Linked DNA regions of Homo sapiens: region 1 is linked to region 2. The links are contacts of gene promoters, found by promoter capture Hi-C in blood cells and fetal thymus (Javierre and others, 2016). All regions are on one chromosome and are shown on one strand. The core of a region is centred on a gene start or on the middle of the fragment in contact, and the rest is flanking DNA. Distances in the headings are between cores, read along the strand shown.

Region 1 (6,941 bases), core at 1,481-3,980, 250 kb before region 2:
TAGACAAGGTACCATGAAAATATGGTATTATAATTTATTTATTTATTTATTTATTTATTTATTTATTTTTTGAGATGAAGTCTCACTGTTGTCACCCAGGCTGGAGTGCAGTGGCGTGATCTAGGCTCATTGCAACCTTCACCTTCCAGGTTGAAGAAATTCTCCTGCCTCAGCCTCCCGAGTAGCTGGGATTACAGGTGTCTGCCACCACGCCCAACTAATTTTTGTATTTTTAGTAGAGATGGGGTTTCGCCATGTTGGCCAGGCTGGTCTCGAACTCCTGACTGATATTATAGTTTTTATGGGACCACAATCGTATATGCAGTGTGTTGGTGACCAAAATGTCATTATGTGGCATATAACTGTATCTTAAGGTTTAATCACAGTAACATGATAGCAGTACTATTGGCCTCATTTTGCAGTTGAGAAACTGGTTGCTCAGAGAGGTTGGAGTAACCTGCCCATCAGTGGCAGGGCCAGGATTGGCACCAGGTCAGCTTGATTTCAAAATGTTGTTTTGTCTTCTAGACAACAAAGCATCATTGAAGGTGTCCAAGAGGAAACTGAGAGGCCAAAGCAGCATTTTGGGAAGATTAATATGACAGCAGTGGGTGGAAGGAATGGGAGAGAAGCAATGCCGAAGCTGTGGGGATCCACTAGTAGGTTACACAACAACGTCAGCTTGAGAATCCTCCAGGAGGACAGCAGAAGCAGAAAGGAGGTGCAGCTGTGAGAGACAATGAGAAGCAGAGATTAGCAGTCCTTGGCAGCTGAGTAGTCTCAGACTTGACAAGGAAATCCTCCTTTTTCTGATTATTTAGGGTCCTGCCATATGTTGGTGGCCTATACCAGGGATAAGGCCTGTCACTTCTACTTGAGTTATGCAGGAGCAGAGAAGGCAGGGAAACACGTGTGGTGAGAGGGTGCCTTGCTCAGCTCCTCGACAGGGCTAGGGTAGGTAGTCTGCCATCCCTGGTCAAGGCCTAGGCCTTTGGAAGTTCTAGTTACCCAGCCCAGGATATAGCATCTTGTGTGTTCAATAAATGGTAATTGGTGGTGGTGAGCTCAGAAGCATCTCTAAAATAGAGAGTGAGCCATCACTGTTTACAAGCAACTCCTCTCCCCAGCTGGTGGAAGCACATGGATCTAATGACTCCTTTCCTGGTGAGGAAACCGAGGCTCAGAGGTTTCATGGCTTTCCCACGGTCTCCTGGAGAGCCAGAGGGCAGAGTTAGGGTTCAAATGCATCATTCTCAGCTCTGACCTAGAGTCCTGTTGCCTTCCCCAGCTTGTCTCTCTTTGGTGTCAGAGAAACAGGGGGAATTAATGATAAACCTTCACATGAGTAAGGCCATTTACAGTTTACAAAACTGCTTCCCATCCATTATCTCATTTGATCCTCACAACAACTGGGTATTATTATACTCATTTTGCAGATGGAGAAACTGGCTATGGTCATTCAACTGTGACTGAAAGAGCTAGAATTCAAAATGAAGTTTTCTGACTCCAGGTCTAAGCTCTTTCCTGGAGGCCATGAGAATAAGGGAGCAAATGAAAAATAGAACAGCAAAGGGGAGAAGAAGTGTTCAGGTGAGAGCAGCAAATGCAGCATAGATGGTGCTGGAGGGCTTCAAGTTAAACACAATAAAAGCTTCTGGGCAGGAAAGATTGTTCATCACAGGTACCAGCAGCTGGGGGAAGCTGGTTTATCTGGGGAATTAGCTTGGTTTTTAGTAGAGGCTGATTGGTTGAAGAGATAATCTCTAGAAAAAATATTTCCTGCTTTCTTACCCTTGGATATTTGCCGCCTTCTTACCCTTGGATCTTGTGAAGAAAAAGAAGCAGGAGAGAGAGGAAAACACTAATGTTAGCATTTGCCTTATAGATGCCCAATAAACTATATTGAGTGGATGGTTGAATGGATGGCTGGGTGGGTGGATGAATGGATGGCTGGGTGGATGGATGAATGGATGGTTGGGTGGATGAATGGATGGATGGGTGGATGAATGGATGGATGGGTGGATGGGTGGATGGATGGATGGATGGGTGGGTGGGTGGATGGATGGATGGATGGATGGATGGGTGGATGGATGGATGGGTGGGTGGGTGGATGGATGGGTGGGTGGGTGGGTGGATGGATGGGTGGGTGGGTGGGTAGATATTCAAGTGGGTGTGTGGATGGGCCATGGATGGATGGGAGAGATTTAGGGAAATTGCACATCTCCTTGGGCAACCTCATGGTCCTATTTACAACTCTTGAAGTTACTCTACCTCTGTTTCTCCCACCCTTTAACCCATCTACATTATCTGATGCTATAAATGATGTTCTTATCCCAGGAGGAAGAATTAGTGTAGCATTCAGAGAGAAGCCAGGAAGTAACTTCCTTTGTCCCAGGAAGGTGAATGGGATGGAGTATCTCTGTCCTCCAGTTCACTTGAAGTCTCTGAAGCCCTGCTCTAACCTAATAGTCAGGATTTCTGGATCCTGGGGGACCCTCCAGCTGCTCCTGTTGGAGGGGAACAGCCATCTTGTCATGGGGTGGTAGATATGGCATTTGTGGTTGGGCTCTAGAAAGACTAAGGACCCAAGGGATCGAGAACTATGCTCGCCCGAGGTCTCTTTACTCTGCAACTTCTTTGCCCGCCTTTCAGGGAAACATTGCAATGTGGCTTTCCCAAGCTAGTATGGGGTGGGGGTTGGGTAAGGCCAAAGGGTTAGAGATGATCCATACAGGGTGCACCTTTGTCCTCTACCTATGGTCAGTCCCTACTTGTCACCAGTAGAACCAGTAACTCTGGCCCTAAGGCTGCATGGCAGTCTTATACTGGAGAATTCATGGGACAGGTGTCCCGGTCCTGGGTTCTGATTCTAGCTCTGTCACTGAGTATGTCCAGTGTATAACACAGCATCTGCATGTAGTAGATGCTCACTATATATCCAATGAGAAGGCAAGGCGCAGTGACTGGCTCACGCCTGTAATCCCAGCACTTTGGGAGGCCGAGGATGACGGATCACCTGAGGTCAGGAGTTTGAGACCAGCCTGGCCAACATGGTGAAACCCCATCTCTACTAAAAATACAAAAATTAGCCAGGCATGGTGGTGGGCGCCTGTAATTCCAGCTACTTGGGAGGCTGAGGCAGGAGAATCACTTGAACCTGGGAGGCAGAGGTTGCAGTAAGCCAAGATCACACCACTGCACTCCAGCCTGGAGTCTCTCTCTCTATATGTAGACTATATATATATATATATCTTCAATGAGAGAGTGAACAAATGAATGAAATAATTAGCTGTGACCTTGGGCAGATTACTTTCCTCTTCTGGACCTTGGTCTCCATACCTGTAAAATGGGGATAATAATGCTGGCTCTGTCTCCCACTTACAGCCATCCTCAGCCTTTGGGAGTAAATGAACAGATAGATGTGAATGGTGTTTATGTATCATCCCACTCAAGGGACTACATGGTGGTTGGCATTTGCTGCCCCATGCCCCTGCACCTGCACATGCTAGCCAGGTCTGCTGCTCATCTCACGCATGCCACAGCCCACACCTCTCCAGATCCCTGCTATCCTGTCCCATGGAACTTGGTTGTCCCACATCCCCCACTTTCAGGGATCTGGCTCTGTTAACATGAAAGTGATACTATTTACCCTTTATTAACACCTATCTGTTGAGCATTTAGGTCATTATGTCCTCATAACGGTCCTCTGAGGGACTCACTGTAGTGAAGTGACCTGCCCAAGGCCACATAACACTTAAGTAGTAGAGCCAGGATTCCAGCCAGGTCTCTGAACCTGCTGCTGAAGCTTCTGGCCTTGTAGCTGTAAATTCTTGGTCTACCCAGGGCGGCAGTTTCATTCAGTGTGGTGAAGAAAGTACAACAGTCGGAGGTGCAAGACCTGCATTCAAGCTTAGGCTTGACTGCTACTAAGCTGGGTGTTGGCCGGGTGGGGTGGCTCATACCTGCAGTCCAAGCACTACAGGCCGAGGCTGGTGGATTGCTTGAGCCCAGGAGTTCATGAGACCAGCCTGGGCAACATGCCAAAACCCCATCTCCACAAAAAGTACAAAAATTAGCCAGGCATGGTGGCACATGCCTGTAGTCCCAGCTACTTGGGAGGTTGAGGTGGGAGGATCGCTTGAGCCCAGAAGGTCTAGGCTGAAGTGAGCAGAGATTGCGTCACTACACTCCAGCTTGGGCAACAGAGCTAGATCCTGTCTCAAAAAATAAAAATAAAAATGAACTGAGTGTCCTCAGCAAGTTTCATCAAAGTGCTAAATTGTGAGGATCAAAAGCAATGGTGTGTTCAAACCACTTAGTAATGTGTCCATCAAATATTGGAAATGATTTTTATAGGAGGTCTTCTAGAGGCATTGGTTTAACAGAAAGAAATGGCTATAACAGTGGGGATTACAGAGACCATAGCAGGCTGGTGAATACTTTGGGGAAAGAAGTCTTTCAAAGTTGCTTAGGTCATATGATGAATCCTGAGGGCAAACATTTGCTCCCGCTCTGGCTAGGAAGGCTCTGCCCTCAGGCTCTGGGAGTTCCTAACCAATAGCAGAGTCCTAACTCGCTGTGCCCCACAAATTGCTAGTTACCTAGGTCCCAGATTCACCTAAGATTTAACCCATAGTTCCTTTTTCTTTGGAAGAGCTTGCCCATGTCAGGGGAGAACTCTCCAATGTACCTGGAGGTCCCCTTTCTGCTTATGCTCAGCCCAGGGCCGGTGAGGCAAGGAAAGAAAATAGCTCAGTCATAAACTCATCCCAGCTGAGCCTCTTATGGAAATGCTGACAGACCCTTCAAGACTAGACGCCAGCTCCAGCAGTGGCGCCTTTCTAAAGCCCCGGCTGGGAGCTAAATATAGTGGCAGGAGGGATGGGGTGTGGACTTGGGGGATGGATGGGGAGGGGAGGGAAGAACTCTGGAGGAGAACAGGAGAGGGGAAGAGAGGAGGGGAAAAGAAAGAGAAATAAAGAAGGAGAGGGCAGGGAAGAAATTGAAGAAATGGGGAGAAAACAAGAAGAGGCTCAGAAAAGTTTTAGGGAAAGGGAGATGAAGAAGAAGGTGAGATGGAGAGCAAGCAGATGTGGCTGGACATGGGAGTGCGGCTCAGTGTTCGGGTTCCGGTTCCGTGTGGTGCAGAGAGCTAGCTGGTGGGGGCAGCCTAGAGGGGGAACAGTAGTAGTCCCAGGCTAGGCCCCTGTCTGGCTGGCCTGCAGAAAGCCCTCGGTAATTGTTTATCTGCCACAGCACTATTGGAACCAAGAGACAGCCCAATTCTCCAGACTCCAGACTCTGTTCTGCCTCCCCACATCTTCATCTGGGTGCAGGCCTGCCTCTAGCTGTCCCCAAGACAGTCCATAATGCGGCCTAGGGTCCTTCCAGTTAGCCTGGGGCCTCTGGTGGGGGTGAGGTGGATCTTTGTGTAATGGAGGCAGGGCTGTGGGGGCGGGGTGGCCTGCCTTTCAGTGAGGGTGGGAGTGTGGTACTGCATAGTGAGAGTGCAGCCTCAGACGTGCTTGAAAGAAACCTGCTTCCTCAGGCTGAGGGGGCAATGGGCAGGTTAGAGCACTGAGGTGGAAACAGGTCAGGAAGTGAGACCCAGCTGAACTGAATCAGACTCCTAGTGTCAGAGGTATTTGAACCAGAGTGACTCCATTTTGACTAGGAGCTGGGTAAAATAAGGCTGAGACCTACTGGGCTACATTCCCAGATAGTTAGGCATTCTACGTCACAGGATGAGATAGGAGATTGGCACAAGATACAGGTCACAAAGACCTTGCTGATAAAACAGTTTGCAGTAAATAAGCTGGCTAAAACCCACCAAAACAAGATGGTGAAGAGAGTGACCTCTGGTCATCCTCACTGCTACACTCTCACCAGTCCCATGACAGTTTACAAATGAAATAGTCATAAAAATGGGCAACTAGCAGCCCTCGGGGCTGCTCAGCCTATAAAGTAGCCATTCTTTATTCCTTTACTTTTTTTTTTTTTAAGTGAAAGCAAGTTTATTAAGAAAGCAAAGGAATGGCTACTCCATAGGCAGAACAGCCCCTTTACTTTCGTAATAAATTTGCTTTCACTTTACTGTATGTATTTGCCTCGGATTCTTTCTTGTGTGAGATCTAAGAACCCTCTCTTGGGATCTGGATCCAGAGCTGGTTGGACTGGGAGCTGGTTGGACTGATGGGACATGGGGGAGCCCTGGAAAGAGGGGAGGAGGTGGTGAAGCCCCAGCGTCAGGGAGGAGAAGCAGGAACTGGGGAACTGTCCTAGAGATATATGGGAAATTCGGTACATTTTGGTTAAAAATCTAAAATTATGCCACCATCATATGAAACTAAGTTTGCTTTCACAGCAACTACTTTTTTTTTGTTTGTTTTTGAGACAGAATCTCGCTCTGTTGCCCAGGCTGGAGTGCAGTGGCATGATCTCAGCTCACTGCAACCTCCGCCTCCTGGGTTCAAGCAAGTCTCCTGCCTCAGCCTCCAAAGTAGCTGGGATTACAGGCGCCCGCCACCACGCCCGGCTGATTTTTGTGTTTTTAGTGGAGATGGGTTTTGCCATGTTGGCCAGGCTGGTCTTGAACTCTTGGCCTCAAGAGATCTGCCTGCCTTGGCCTCCCAAAGTCCTGGGATTACAGGCGTGAGCCACCATGGCTGGCCCACAGCAACTACTTTCGAGGCATAGCTCTGGCCCTTTTGAGATATGAGGCGAAGCTCTGATCAGCCCCACTGACTGTGTGGGGTGGGAGGGTCTAGGGGAAGGAGAAAGGGCTGGGTGTGCTTTGCTGTGTAAGTCAGCAGTACTTAGTAGCTGCTCAGTAAACATTTGTGGGTGGTGATGTGGGCAGGTGTGTTGAGAGCCTGGAGAGCAAGAAACTGAACTCACCTCTTCCTTATCCCATTCCCCCTTTCTCCTAGGCTCTGGGAGGG
Region 2 (7,011 bases), core at 3,924-6,423:
AGAGCTAATATCTAGGACTGGCATTTTAGAGCTAATATCTGGGTCTGTTCTCCCCTGCAGTCATGTAATTTCCTTAATAGCATCCTGGGAGCTGGTCTGTCTTATGTTGGTTTCTTCCAACAGCCCTCAGCACAGTCTGAGGGACACCATTAGTTCTTGGCTCATTTGCAGAACAAAGGTGAACATCATGTACAGAGTCACTGAATGGCCAAATCCTCTAGCCTTCAGGTTTTAATTTATCCCCTCTGCCTCCTTCCTTATTCAGGTATCTCTCCCTGAACGGCCCCCCTTTCCTGACTCAAATACACTCATACCTTCTAGAAAGTGGTCTTCTGGGATCCATCATGTCATCATCATGTTAACAATATCAAGCATGCAGTAAACACACAGTAAAAATAAGAGATGCTATCCATTAAAAGAGAAAGGTTGTTCTCTACCTTCTTTTTAAGCAGCTTATTGCTAAAAGGAAATTATAAGCCCTCAGGCATCTTCTAGAACTTGGAAGTTGAGGTCTTTCTCCTATTGCAGTTCAAAGAAAACAAGTCTTTCTCCAGCTCCAACATCTTCATGGCTCTCATCCTTCTGGAAAGAGGACACTCTCCATGATGAGGACTTCTAATGGCCCTTTGGTGCCAAGGGAATAGGAGAAAATATCTCTCTTGGAAGCTTTGGGACACCATTGTTGGGTGCCAATGTAGCCAAGAATTTCCATTGAAACATCAGACTAGGAAAAACTCCCTCGCTGGCGTCAAGAGTTTTCAGGATGGGCCAGCAGCGGGGTCTGGATTATATAATATCGCCATGGTCATCTTTCTGCTGACCTCTGTATATTCAATTCAAGAAATCTGGTTGGGTGGGTTTTCAGTCACACCCTCTTGCCCTCCACCTTCCCTGAGTTATCTGGGATCAGAGGCTGGATCATAAAAACAAGGGTTGTTGAGTCTTGTGGGGGATGAAGAGGAAGAAAAGGGTTGGTGGCCACAAGAACGTCACTGTGTCTTTGCTGGTGGGAACTTGAGTCAGAAGGGACTTCATTTCTCCCAGACAGGGTGGGTCCAGCATCAGAGGCAATGAGCTTTGCCTAGTGATTGTGGCTTAACCTGTACTTTTCTGGGTAGGGAGGAAATAGCAGTGGCCTGAACCCCTGGAAAGTCTAAAGGTTTTCCTGGCCTGGTTGGTGGTGGTTTTTCCACCCAGCATTGAGTACTGAAGACAGACATACTCTGTGGGGAGCCAAAAATACAATTCCTTTCATAACCCTTTACTGATTGCCTACTAAGTGCCAACGCATTGTGTGCCCAGCTGGGACAGGGGCTACAGAAATGCATGACATTGCCTTTCTCTTTAGTTTATTTTCAGTCTAGTGACTGCATAGTGCTGGCTAGACACCCCCTAGAAGATACTGGTGTCCTCCTTCACATGTGGACTCCCTCAGCAAGCAATCTGGTGGACATCAATATCTCATTCTTGGCTTCCCATGTTGAAGGCAAGCTCTGAGGGCCTAGATCCAGGAACCAGGCAAACAAAGCAGCAGTGGCCAAAATGGAGGTAGAAACCTCCACTAAAGGTTAGAGAAAAGAACTTTTGAACAGTGGGTGGTTCCCTGAAACTCTGCCTTCTGACCTGGTCCCAATCATCCCTTCCATCCTTCCTTCATCCCAGGCCTGCCTTGGAACAGGATGGATAGCTAAAGACCTGGTGCACATCTCACCACTTTAGAAATGGCCAAAAAACCCCATGGAGATACTGTCTTTTTGGTGGTGCCCGGTTGGGAAGAATCCAGTCACTATTTGGTTCCCAGACTTTAGTAACTTTCATTGTTAGTAAATGCAGAATTAGTCAGCATGCTGGAATTTAAAAAAATAAACATCTGTACCCAATGGTGAATCTGTCCAGGCTATCTAGGCTCATTTAAAAGTGTTTCCCAGGCTCGGTTGCCAAGATCAGTGTCCTCCACTGAAAGGTGACTGCTTTCTGGACTCAAAAATGACTAGAAAGTTATCTGTGCATTATTCATAAGCATTTTCACAGTAAGGCCATTCTGCTTCACTCATGAGGTCAGAGTTTGCTACATTCAGATCTGCTTTATTATAATCAGGCATTATACCGAAGCCTTCTTTGTGTCTCCAACACTTAGGATCATGCCCAACACATAGTAGATGCTCAAATTTATTAAACGGAAATGAAATATGGGTGGGATGAGGAAGAGAACCCCTATACCCCAGCCCCATCTCACTTTAAAACCCCCCTGCCCCCAGATTCAGGCAGATTGGTCAATCGTAATTAATTAAGCTTCATCTTAGTCGAGGCCAGCCTGACAGCAGGGTAGTCATTGCCCCTCCACTTTGCCAATCCTCTGTGCTAGAGTTAGAGAAAAGTGTGTGGGCTTTCAAGTCATGTAGACCAAGGTTCAGATCCTTGTTTTGCCACTTACCAGCTAGTCACTTTATATCACTAAAACCCTAATTCCTTGGCTGAAAGCAGGGTCAAAAATAAAAAAAAAAAAATCCTGACAGAATGAGGTGACATAACAGAGGCAGGTCGGAGCCACTGCTGTCACCATGACCCGCAGTAACCAGCATGAGCTTACTGGCTAGAAAAATAGGAAAAAGCAGAGTGACTCAGTTAAGGGAAAACGTCGAGATGACGGGCTTTCTGCTGCTGCGGCAAGCAGAGGAGCTCAGAGACCAAGCAGCAGGAGCAGAAGAAGGCAAAAGAGAAGAAGGAGGAACCCGAGTAGCTTTGTGGCTTCATGTCCAACCCTCCTGCCCTTCGCCTATGTGACTGGAGCCAGTCCCACCACCCTCACGTTTCCTCCTGCAGTGCCCGCAGGTCCCCGCACCCATGGCCTCCTTTTGCCCTGAGTCTGCAGCGGGTCCCTTTTGTGCTTCCTTCCCCTCACGTAGCCTCTCTCCCCCTGGCCCCTCCTGGAAGTGGCGGGTGGGAGGTTACCCCTTCCCAGTGTTTTTTTATTCCTGTGGGGCTCACCCCAAAGTATTAAAAGTAGCTTTGAAAAAAAAACACTAATTCCAATGCAAAATATCTACTGTTATCTTTGATAACATAAGTAAACCACCTAGTCTATAGTAGGTGGTCAGAAAAGGCTCATTCATTAGGTTTCATCTTTTTGAAATCTCTTCTTAAATTCTGAGAATGGGTCCCTGACAAGGCCCTTTCTGACAGCCCACACGCTAAGTCAAAAGCTCAAACCTATTGGAGAAACCAAAAGGACCATCTGCCTCGACACTTCTAAATTCTTCAAATTCAAGTCATCTCAGGGTTTCTCAGTTGGTATTTTTTTAAGATAAAGGTGTTTCTTTGATGTTGGCATAAGCCAGTTAACATACTTGAGGAGAGAACATTTAGGACACATGAGTTTATCTAAGCTATTGAGATTCTGTGTGACCCACATTATAATGGTTCTCAAATGTTTTCTTCCAGCCCCTAAACTCCAGATTCAGATTCATATGTCCAACGGTCTACGTGCATCTCCAGGGGAATGCCTAGCAGGCATCTCTAACAGCATATCCAAAATGTAACTTTGGTTTTCTACCCAACTCAGTCCCACGTCACCTTTCCCATGTCAAGAAATGTTACCACCACCTACCCAGTTGCTCAAACTAAAATTCTAGGAATCATCCTTGACTTTTCCTAACTCTGCAAGACTTGTCAGTTCTCTGTCTAAAATATAAGATCTTCTCTTCCATTGCACCAGTCCAATCTGCCATTACCTCTCCTTGAGGCTGGGTTGGAGCCTCCCTGCTTCCACCCTGGCCTCCCCTTCTCCATACAGCAGCCCCTCCTACATGCTTTTAAAATGTAAATTAGATCCCATGCAAATCAGATCCCATGGCTTCTCCTGCTTGAAACATGTTTTTTTTTTTAAACATTTAGAATAGGCCGGACCGGATGACGCACGCCTGTAATCCCAGCACTTTGGGGCACTGAGGTGGGTGGATCACCTGTGTTTAGGAGTTCAAGACCAGCCTGACCAATATGATGAAACCCTGTCTCTACTAAAAATACAAAAAATTAGCTGGGCGTGGTGGCGTGTGCCTGTAGTCCCAGCTACCCAGGAGGCTGAGGCAGGAGAACGGCTTGAACCTGGGAGGCGGAGGTTGCAGAAAGCAGAGATTGTGCCACTGCACTCCAGCCTGGGCGACACAGCGAGACTCCTTTTCGATCTCCTGACCTCATGATCCTCCTGCCTCGGCCTCCCAAAGTGCTGGGATTACAGGCATGAGCCACCACGCCCAGCTGAGACTCCTTCTCAAACAAACAAACAACAACAACAACAACAAAAACATTTAGAATAAAAACCAAATCACTTCCATCGCCCAAAAGTCCTTTCATGGTACAGCTCCTGCCCAGCTTTCTGATCTTGTCTTTCCCTGGCTGAGGAATTCTATGGCTGTGAAATGGGTAGGACACAGTGAACCTCAGCTATGTGCCAGGTCAGGAGCCTCCCACACATCACCTGATACAGTCCTTGCTACAACCCAGCAAGGTAAGTGTTATTAACTCTGAATTTGTTGTGAGCATTAAGTGGAAGTGGATGATGCTAGTGCATAAGCAGTGATCAGCAAATGCTGGAGTCCCTGCCTTTCCTTTTGTTCCAGTGGTGGAGGTGGGCAGGACCTGTAGCCTAGAAAAGTCTACACTGCTTAGGGATAGAACTGGAACCAGAGCCGGCTGTCCCTTGTCATTCATGCTCCCTTATCCACTAGCCTGATGACCTGTCTATAGGGGGAGCTGAGAAGCGCGAGTTCTCGCTCTCTGGAGGGACATGTGGGTTGCTGAAGGAGTTAAGATGTCTCTTACCAAACCCTGGCCCTCCCCATCCCTGCATCTGCCTTTGTGGCTTTAATGAGAAATCCAGGCGCTTCATAAGAGACTGTACAAATAACTTCTAGGGCGCCACTAACTCATTCAGCAGAAAGGGACCCAGGGCTGCCAATGTTTCAGGGAAGATAAGTGAGTGGAAAAAAGGTGGTTTTTATAGCGTCAGGCGGACCGAAGGATTTGCGTGGTTGAGCGTGAACTCCGCCCCTGCAGCAGAGCTGAAAAAAACCAGGATCCGGGTTCCTCAGCCCCTTTTCACAATATTTGATTAGGAATTTGGGGCGGGACCCTGGTCTGGCACAGGCACGCACACTCTCAGTAGACTCTTTCACTCCTCTCTCTCTTCCTCTCTCACACGTTCTCCAACCCAAGGAGGCCAGACAGAGGGACGTGGTCACTCTCTGAAAAGTTCAACTTGAGGTAAGTATAGTCGTTTTACTTCGGGTTTGTCCCTAGCAGTTCCTTAAAAGAAATAAAGGAAAAGTGGTAGGGGATAGGGGAGATGGGGAGGCAGGGAGGGTTCATTCCTCCTTCTCCACATCTGGGCCATGACCCCAGGGATGCTGGAGAGTGGCAGAGAGGGTGTATAAGGGAGGGGTTCCAGCCCTGTACCTTTCTCTTACAGTTCCTTTATGGGTGCTGAGGGGACCTCCAATTCTCAGGCATGAAAAAGTGAAGGACCCTCTGTCTAGGGAAGCTTCTTCCCTGCTACTCATAAATCCCATCATGCTGGGAGTGTGGGCATTTTGAAGGGTATTCCAAGACCTGGATGTCCCTGCAATCTCTCTTATAGAGGGGTTTGGTACATAAATGCTATTATGGGAGAGGGGGAAACTTTTGTGTAGAATGTGTGTGTGTGTGTGTGTGTGTGTGTGTTTGGAGTGGAAAGGAGAGAATAAAAAGAAGCATTGAGAACTGGCCATGTCCAGGGAGCTGTGGATTGGGGTGGGGATGCAATCCAGGTGAGGGGATGGCCTCTGGCTTGACCTTCTCCACTGATAGGAGGGAGAGATCTTTCTCTAGAGTGGAGAAATGAAAGAACAGCAGTAGCTCCTGAGTAAACTTCCCCCAGCTGATAGTGTGGCAGTCCTGGAAACTTTCGACCTTACAGAAACTCTGAGCACAGGAGGGCCTCTAGCATTATGGGAAACAGTGTAAGACTATGCAACCCTGAAGCAACATTGCTAAGAGATGGGATGGGGTAAGGAGAGGCATAAGCTCCCCATCAAACCCTTTCAGCACCCATGGCTCTAAGAAGAGGCTGAAGTGGGCAGGGTGCACAGCCCCTAGAAAGCTGAGTCTGAAGGGGAAGGTGGCTCTTGTCTGCCAAGGTGCCCAGTCTGAAAGAAGGAGAAACGGAGACAGAGGCTCACTGTGCCAGCCCTCCAGACAGCCACCTTGGTCCTGCAACAGCCCAGGGCTGTGCATGGAAAAATGCTCTGTTGGCAGTGGGCCGCTCCATTCGTCTTCTCTCCTGGCCAGAGCCAGGAACCAGCCAGCTTGCCCAGGCAGTGGGCAGTTGGGTCAGCTTCTCCAAAACACTGTGGCTCTTTGTCTGAGGCCTGAGGCTGCCTGTGGATGAGCCAGGGTGCCTGCTCCTCTGCAACCTAGGAACTGATGGGATGAAGTGGGCCCAAGGAAACTGTTTTGAGGGGACAGAGAGGTCTGGGATGGATGGTGGTCAGGAGGTAACTCTGTTGAGTGTCATAGTTGGGGTCTTTCCCATCAGTTCACTGGATCTGATGATGTTGGCTTTTATACTCCTTTCTTTCTTCTGTTTACAGTTGCCAACCCCAGTAGGCCCAACAGCAATGTGAGGGCTGTATGTGACTCTTCCAGGCCAAGAAAGATTCTAAGGTTTCTCTGTCCAAGGGTGACACTCAGGAAGATGCCCACTGCTCACAGGAGTATGTCATGCATTGGCTATAGGTAACCAGGGTAGGGTACCCAGGCCACCCCTAGTCTCTTACCTTCCATACCTTTAGTTTCCCTCTCAGATGACATCAGACCCACATTTCCTCTTCAGTCTGCCCTGTTCCTATCTCATTAGCACAACAGGTTCAAAAGCAACAGGTTTCCAGCAATGTGGGGACCTAGACACAGAGCCTGGTCATCTAGGTGTCATCGCTGGGAGCAGGTAGCTTGGGAAAGGAGAGGAGAATGTCAGGG

The links. The method cuts DNA at HindIII sites, captures the fragments that hold promoters and counts their contacts. A CHiCAGO score of 5 or more calls a contact.
Region 1: a contact is called between a fragment that was not itself captured here and the fragment with the promoter of FMOD in region 2, in 1 of 17 cell types (M1 macrophages). The highest score is 5.3, in M1 macrophages.

The regions. Positions count from the first base shown.
Region 1 is chr1:203,599,148-203,606,088 of GRCh38, reverse strand. No RefSeq gene overlaps it. Among named protein-coding and RNA genes, the nearest start is that of ATP2B4, 24 kb to the left of the region's middle. RefSeq lists enhancers at 4,840-5,340, 5,341-5,841. The HindIII fragment of the contact is 2,154 bases long and covers 1,654-3,807 here.
Region 2 is chr1:203,349,284-203,356,294 of GRCh38, reverse strand. FMOD (fibromodulin) reads left to right here and starts at 5,173. Exons shown (of 3, transcript NM_002023.5): 1 at 5,173-5,262. It also overlaps the pseudogene LOC100131747. The HindIII fragment of the contact is 3,247 bases long and covers 2,295-5,541 here.